2 separate regions of the Homo sapiens genome follow, and region 1 is linked to region 2. The links are contacts of gene promoters, found by promoter capture Hi-C in blood cells and fetal thymus (Javierre and others, 2016). All regions are on one chromosome and are shown on one strand. The core of a region is centred on a gene start or on the middle of the fragment in contact, and the rest is flanking DNA. Distances in the headings are between cores, read along the strand shown. Region 1 holds the start of TUBGCP6 (tubulin gamma complex component 6). Region 2 overlaps CRELD2 (CRELD disulfide isomerase 2).

Region 1 (3,256 bases), core at 190-2,689, 320 kb before region 2:
GTGAATGCTCTTCCACCTCTGCCTCTGCGGTTTGGGCTCAGGAGGGTGAGCAGGGCCTTACACTTATGCACCTGTGTCCTGGAAGGAGGAGTCTGTGGCTGAACATCAGGGGCAAGGAGGCGGCTGCCCTATCCATGTTCCATGTCTCCACGCCACTGCCAGTGGTGAGTGACCATGCCACGCGGCAAGGCAGGTGCTGGGGAGCCCATGGATGTGTACAGCTGCTGTTTGCTGGCATTGTCATGATAGCAGGCCTCTGGTCCTTCCTGTCTCCCTGCTCCTACTCCAGGGGCCCTGAGATTGGGAGGTTGGGAGGCCAGAGCCAGCAGGTGTCCGTAGATGAGGAGCTGGGCTCTGCTGTCCCCACAGATGACCGGTGGTTTCCTGAGCTGCATCTTGGGCTTGGTGCTGCCCCTGGCCTATGGCTTCCAGCCTGACCTGGTGCTGGTGGCGCTGGGGCCTGGCCATGGCCTGCAGGGCCCCCACGCTGCACTCCTGGCTGCAATGCTTCGGGGGCTGGCAGGGGGCCGAGTCCTGGCCCTCCTGGAGGAGGTAAGCTGGGCAGGGTGGAGGTGCTGCGGGGTGGGACGAGGGAAAGGACCAGTGACTGCTTCCGTCTTCGCCCCTGGTCCAGAACTCCACACCCCAGCTAGCAGGGATCCTGGCCCGGGTGCTGAATGGAGAGGCACCTCCTAGCCTAGGCCCTTCCTCTGTGGCCTCCCCAGAGGACGTCCAGGCCCTGATGTACCTGAGAGGGCAGCTGGAGCCTCAGTGGAAGATGTTGCAGGTGAGGCTGACTGCGGAGGCATGGCCCTGCCCTGGGGCCTGGCTCTGCCGCACAGATCGGTGGGGAGGGCAGGGCAGGGGAGTGCCCTGAACCAGCTCCAGCGCCGGAGGCCAACTGCGCGCCTCTTCTCGGCTCCTCCTGTAGTGCCATCCTCACCTGGTGGCTTGAAATCGGCCAAGGTGGGAGCATTTACACCGCAGAAATGACACCGCACGCCAGCGCCCCGCGGCCGCGATCCGGACCCCAAGCCCACGGCTCCCTCGACTCTGGGGCACGGAACCCCGCCCACTCCCAATCCCCGCGCCCCGCCCTCTCCCACCCGTGCTTCCCCCGCTCCACCCCTCACCTCACCTCGCCCCCGCCCCACCCATCGCGCCCCGGCCCGTCCCATCGAGGCCCATGCAACCCACGCTCGGTCCCGTTCCGGCCCCTGCGCCCCGCTGCGCTTCGCTCCCCGCCCTTGCGCCGTTAGTAAACATCGCTCAAACGAAACGCTGGCTCTGCCTCCTTTACTGAGCACGCTCGGCCTCGGTCTCTCACCCGCGGTGCCGGACTCAGGCCGGAAGTATGCCGCGGCCCAGGCCTCACCAACTTCACGCGCTGCCGGCGTTCCCGTGACGTATTTCCGGCGCGCCCGCCCTAGTGCTCTTCACACTGGCGCGGCTGTGACGCGACGGAGGCGGCGAGAGCGGCAGCCGTGGGCACTTTCCACGGGTGAGGCCTGGAGAACGGGTGGACGTGCAGGCCAGAACCCGGGACCCACCCGGCTGAGCCCCCAGACTCTCCGCTGCCCACGACCCTCGGAGTGGCACCCTCTCCTGGCCGTCTCCTCTCGTGGGTCCCGAAGAACGGGTGCAAAGCCGAGTTCGTCCGCTGTACTGCGCGGGCGCGCGTTTCGTTCTTCGGTTTTGCCACGGTTCTGTGACTCCCTAAAGGTTGAGGGCTACTGAATTAGAAGAAACGCCGAGCTGGCTTCTGGTGGGCTGCCGGGCGCCGGGCAGCGTGCTTGGACTGGGGAGGGCAGGGCGTGTTTACTCTGAGTAGAGCAACCGCAAGACCTCCTTTAAAAAATACCAGTTCTGAGCTTCGGCATTGGAGAGGCCGCCTGTCATTCAGCCTCTTCGGACCCTCTCTCACTCCCTGTCTTCCGGAGCGTGAGTGAAGCCCGGGTGAGGTGTTTTCCCACACGCCGGGGGCCCGGAGCTGAGAAGGGGCATGGCCAGCATCACGCAGCTGTTCGACGACCTGTGTGAGGCCCTCCTGCCGGCTGCCAAGACTCACCTGGGCCAGCGCAGTGTGAACCGGAAGAGGGCAAAGCGGAGCCTCAAGAAGGTGGCCTACAATGCTCTTTTCACAAATCTTTTTCAAGATGAGACTCAACAGCTGCAGCCTGACATGTCAAAACTACCAGCGAGAAACAAGATCCTCATGTTGTCCTTTGACTTGAGAGTGGGTGGCCTGGGCCCCAAGGCCGACCGTTTGGAGGAGCTTGTGGAGGAGCTGGAAGCAGCCCCTTGCTGTCCGCTTTTGGAGGTGGGGTCTGTTTTGGACCTCCTGGTTCAGCTGGCAGGGAGTGGTCCCCCTCAAGTTCTGCCGAGAAAACGAGACTACTTCCTTAACAACAAGCATGTGGGGAGAAACGTTCCGTACAGCGGCTATGATTGCGACGACCTGAGTGTGTTTGAGATGGACGTTCAGTCTCTGATCTCCAGAGAAGAGTGTTTGTGTCACAGCATGATCCAGGAAACACTTCAGGTTATGGAGGCTGCTCCAGGCACTGGCCTGCCCACCGTCGGGCTCTTCTCATTTGGTGACCCTTGTGGTGACAGGTTCGAGAGAGACACCCGGGTCTCGCTCTTCGGGGCCCTTGTGCACAGCCGCACTTATGACATGGACGTCCGACTGGGCCTGCCCCCCGTGCCAGACAATGCGGACCTCTCTGGGCTGGCTATTAAGGTAGAATGTTTAGTTTTTCCTCTTTCATCTCTCTCGGGGTTTGGAAAATGCTTCCTGTGACCTTTCTTCTTCTTCTTCTTCTTCTTTTTTTTTTTTTTTTTGAGACAGTGTCTCACTCTGTCACCCAGGCTGGAGTGCAGTGGCGCGATCTTGGCTCACCTTAACCTCCACTTTCTGGGCTCAAGCAATTCTCGTACCTCAGCCTCCCGAGTAGCTGAAATTACAGGCACCTGCCACCACGCCCGGCTTAATTTTTTTTTTTTTTTGAGATGGAGTCTTGCTCTGTTGCCCAGGCTGGAGTGCCGTGGCGCGATCTCGGCTCACTGTAACCGCCGCCTCCCGGGGTCAAGTGATTCTCCTACCTCAGCCTCCCGAGTAGCTGTAGCTGGGATTTAGGTGCATGCCACCACGCCCAGCTAAGTTTTGTATTTTTAGTAGAGATGGGGTTTCACCATGCTGGCTAGGCTGGTCTTGAACTCCTGACCTCTTGATCCGCCTGCCTCGGCCTCCCAA
Region 2 (3,552 bases), core at 489-2,988:
AGCGGCACGTGAGCCCTGTTCAGGGACAGCAGAGCCACCAGCCCAGGACCGGACCTGCTGCCTCTGCGGACCTCGGCAGCCCTGGTCACTCCCGGCTCTGGCAGGACAGGTGCAAACTCAGTGGTAAAGGTCCGTCCTGATTAATGAGACAAACCCACGCCCGTTCTCCTCCTGATTACCTACAATGGTCAATTTTATTACAAAGAACTGTATCAAAATATACAAGTCTGTTTAAGAACAACCAAGAAATGCAGCTGTTTAAGGGACAAATGAGAATCAACCGTTAGAGAGCAGGCAGCCTCTCCCCGCCGCTGTCCACTGCAGGAGACGGCATCCTCAGGGCCACATTTTCCACGGGACATCCTTCTGAATAATTTAAAGGGTAAGTCCGGCACATTACAGGTCTTCGCGGGAGGGCAGCTGTGTCGGGCTTTCTCCTTCTGTGGCTTCTGTCAGAAAACAAGCATAGGTCGTCAAGGCTGAGCACAAAGGGCCCTGGGGATGAGGCCTTTCCCAGGACAGCAGCGCATGTGCAGGGCCTGCCCGTCCAGTCCTGGCTCAAAGCCCCGGACGCAGCCATCCAAGGGCAGCTCGGAGACCCCCGTTTCCCACAAAGCAGATGAGAGATGAGGCAGACGGCATTTCAGAGCCCCCACGCTGCCGTGGGTGTGGAGGATGCAGAGTTGGGAGCGGCAAGGGGTTCCTTGCGGCCTGGCAGAATGGGAGCCTGAACAATGGTTGTGGCGGGAGGAGAAAGAGGGGACCGAGGGTGGGGGAGGTAGGAGAAAGAGGGGACTGAGGGTGGTACGGGGAGGGAGGGGCAAGAGGGGACCGAGGGTGGGGGGGAGGGAGGAGAATGAGGGGACGGGGGGGAGGGAGGGGCAAGAGGGGACCCGGGGTGGGGGGAGGGAGGGGCAAGAGGGGACCCGGGGTGGGGGGAGGGAGGGGCAAGAGGGGACCCGGGGTGGGGGGAGGGAGGGGCAAGAGGGGGGGAGGGAGGGGCAAGAGGGGACCCGGGGTGGGGGGAGGGAGGGGCAAGAGGGGACCCAGGGTGGTGGGAGGGAGGGGCAAGAGGGGACCGAGGGTGGGGGGAGGGAGGGGCAAGAGGCAGGGCCAGCCCAGGGCAGAGGGGACCGAGGGGGTAGCAGGCAGCCTTGTCTTCTGGCCTGTCCGTCTCTGCTAACCCCTCAGTTCTGTCTTGCTGTTGCTGTTTACTACGATGCTTCTAGATGTGGAATTGCTTTTATTTGTCCTGCTCAGGAAACAGCTTCTGGAATCTGAATCGTGCCTTATTCATTCTGAAAAACCCTTAGCCAATATCTCCTTGAACACTGCTTCTTTCCCACTCTCTATATTCTAGACTTCTGTGAGGACTGTCACGGGCAGATTTATGTCCCCCAAAACACGCTGAAGTCTTTACTCCCAGTACCTGTGATTGTGACCTTGTTTGGAAATAGGGTCTTTACCACTGGCCAGGTTAACATGAGGGCATTAGTGACTGGTGTCCTTACAAAGAGGGGAGGTTTGGACAGAGACAGACACCCGCATGGAGACCACGTGAAGACACGGGGAGCAGGTGGCATCCCCAGGCGAGGACAGAGGCCCGGAACAGACGCGCCCACCCAGCCTCCCAAGGAAGCAGCCTGCTTGCGTCTGGGCCTCTGACTTCTGGCTCCTGTGAGCGGCACATTTCTGTTGCTGGAGCCCTAAGTTCCTGGTTCTTGGTAAGGTAGCCCCAGGAAACAGGTGTGGGGGACCCGCTTGCCCTCCACCACTTCCTGCCTGTCCCTGTCTCTGCGGCACCCTGGGCAGCTTCCCCGGATGACTTTTCCAGCTCTTTAGCTGCCTCTTCTCCTGCGTCTGCTCCTCTGCTCATCGCCCGCTGAGGTCTGAGCTTCAGAGACTTCCCCCTTCATCGCCTGAACTTCCGTTTGAGCTGTGAACCTGGGGCTTCATCCTCAGGAAGCCAGTACCTCTCGCGCAAGCGTGCCCACACAGAGATGTCATGCACCTGTCTTCCGGGAATCCCCCTCTCACCATCTCAAGGCCACCATCTGTGTGGATTTCAGACCAAGCAGCCAGTCTACGTGCAAGCCCTGCGGCCCAGGGGAGGGCAGCCTGTGTGGAGGGCAGCCGTGCCACTCACCAGCCTCTGCCGGCGGCACACAGGCATCTTCCGTTTCTTCGAAGCCGTCAGGACACACACAGACGTAGCTCCCTGGAGTATTGTAGCAGTTTTCGTTTTTCCTCACACAGGTTTTTTCTGCTAGTGAGCACTCGTCCACATCTAAAATGAAAAGACTCCGTTTTAATAATTACTTTGCTCAGCAGACGCGCAGCGGATTATGAAATTCATTCATTCAGATTCATTCACATAAAGAAAGCACAACGATGACAAACGTCACGTTACAGAAAGGAGCAAAGATCAGGAAAGGCTTCGAGAGGGAAGAATTTCACGTCTCCAAGTTGGGCCCTCAACTGGTAGAAAATGCAGAGAAGAGACCTCCAGGTGGGGCCGGAAGGCCAGCATGCGCCCAGGAAGCCCACTTTCTTTTCCTTTTTTTTTTTTTTTTGAGGCGGAGTCTCGCTCTGTCGCCCAGGCTGGAGTGCGGTGGCGCGATCTCCTCTCACTGCAAGCTCCGCCTCCCGGGTTCACGCCATTCTGCTGCCTCAGCCCCCCGAGTAGCTGGGACTACAGGCGCCCGCCACCACGCCCGACTAATTTTTTGTATTTTTAGTAGAGATGGGGTTTCACCGTGTTAGCCAGGATGGTCTCGATCTCCTGACCTCGTGATCCCCCCGCCTCAGCCTCCCAAAGTGCTGGATTACAGGCATGAACCATGGCGCCTGCCCAGGAAACCCACTTTCTCCACCGGGTTCCATCCACGCCCAGGCTCACCCAGGCAGCCCACAACCATGGCAGGCCTGGACTTAAGCCTCGGGGCAATCGCCACCCAGGAGCTGGAGGGAGAGCAGAGGCGGTGGACCTGGGGAACGAGGCCACCGGCGAGAGGCTGGTGCAGCAGCGCCATCCACACCAGGGTCGGCCATGCAGAGCCCGTCCCCCACCCCCACTGCTTCTGTGTCTCACGTGGACCTCAGGGCGAGTGCACAGTGACCCTGGGGGAGCCACGTCTGCAGGACGGGTCTCAACTGCTTCCCATCCCTGGCAGTACCTGCTGGGGCCATTCACATCATGGTCACTTGGGAAGGGTCCACCAGCGTCCAGCACAGACCCCGTCACTGACCTGCACACTGTCCGTGCTCCCTCGCGTAGCCAGAGATACACTCTTTACAGTTTCCTGGGCCTTCCCCTGTGCAGCCCACACAGCTGGAGTCACACTCTGCAACAGGGAGCCAGCGTCAGACCCCGACATGCACAAGGCACCAGTGCCCGTCAGACCCCGACATGCACAAGGCACCGGTGCCGCCAGGATTTGGGTTTTCTCCTCATTCATCACCAAGTGACTTTATAACGATCTGTCTCTGTCTCCCGGCAAAAGCACAGACTCGCGTCCTGCTGTGCAGCAGGTGCTCCCGGAGAGCCATGGT

Evidence for each region. The method cuts DNA at HindIII sites, captures the fragments that hold promoters and counts their contacts. A CHiCAGO score of 5 or more calls a contact.
Region 1: the fragment with the promoter of TUBGCP6 here is called in contact with a fragment that was not itself captured in region 2 in 3 of 17 cell types (endothelial precursors, erythroblasts and M0 macrophages); the score reaches 7.9 in endothelial precursors.

The regions. Positions count from the first base shown.
Region 1 is chr22:50,243,206-50,246,461 of GRCh38, reverse strand. TUBGCP6 (tubulin gamma complex component 6) reads left to right here and starts at 1,439. Exons shown (of 25, transcript NM_020461.4): 1 at 1,439-2,743. The coding sequence starts at 2,003. It overlaps HDAC10 (histone deacetylase 10), which reads left to right. Exons shown (of 20, transcript NM_032019.6): 17 at 86-164; 18 at 370-552; 19 at 635-787; 20 at 932-1,279. The coding sequence ends at 955. RefSeq lists a silencer at 1,067-1,136 and enhancers at 1,607-1,656, 2,067-2,346, 1,920-2,850. The HindIII fragment of the contact is 66,555 bases long and covers 1-3,256 here.
Region 2 is chr22:49,924,152-49,927,703 of GRCh38, reverse strand. CRELD2 (CRELD disulfide isomerase 2) reads right to left here. Exons shown (of 10, transcript NM_024324.5): 8 at 3,249-3,344; 9 at 2,147-2,287; 10 at 167-449. The coding sequence ends at 397. Among named protein-coding and RNA genes, the nearest start is that of CRELD2, 7.3 kb to the right of the region's middle. RefSeq lists enhancers at 1,634-1,763, 1,774-1,873, 1,974-2,053, 2,134-2,363. The HindIII fragment of the contact is 8,169 bases long and covers 1-3,552 here.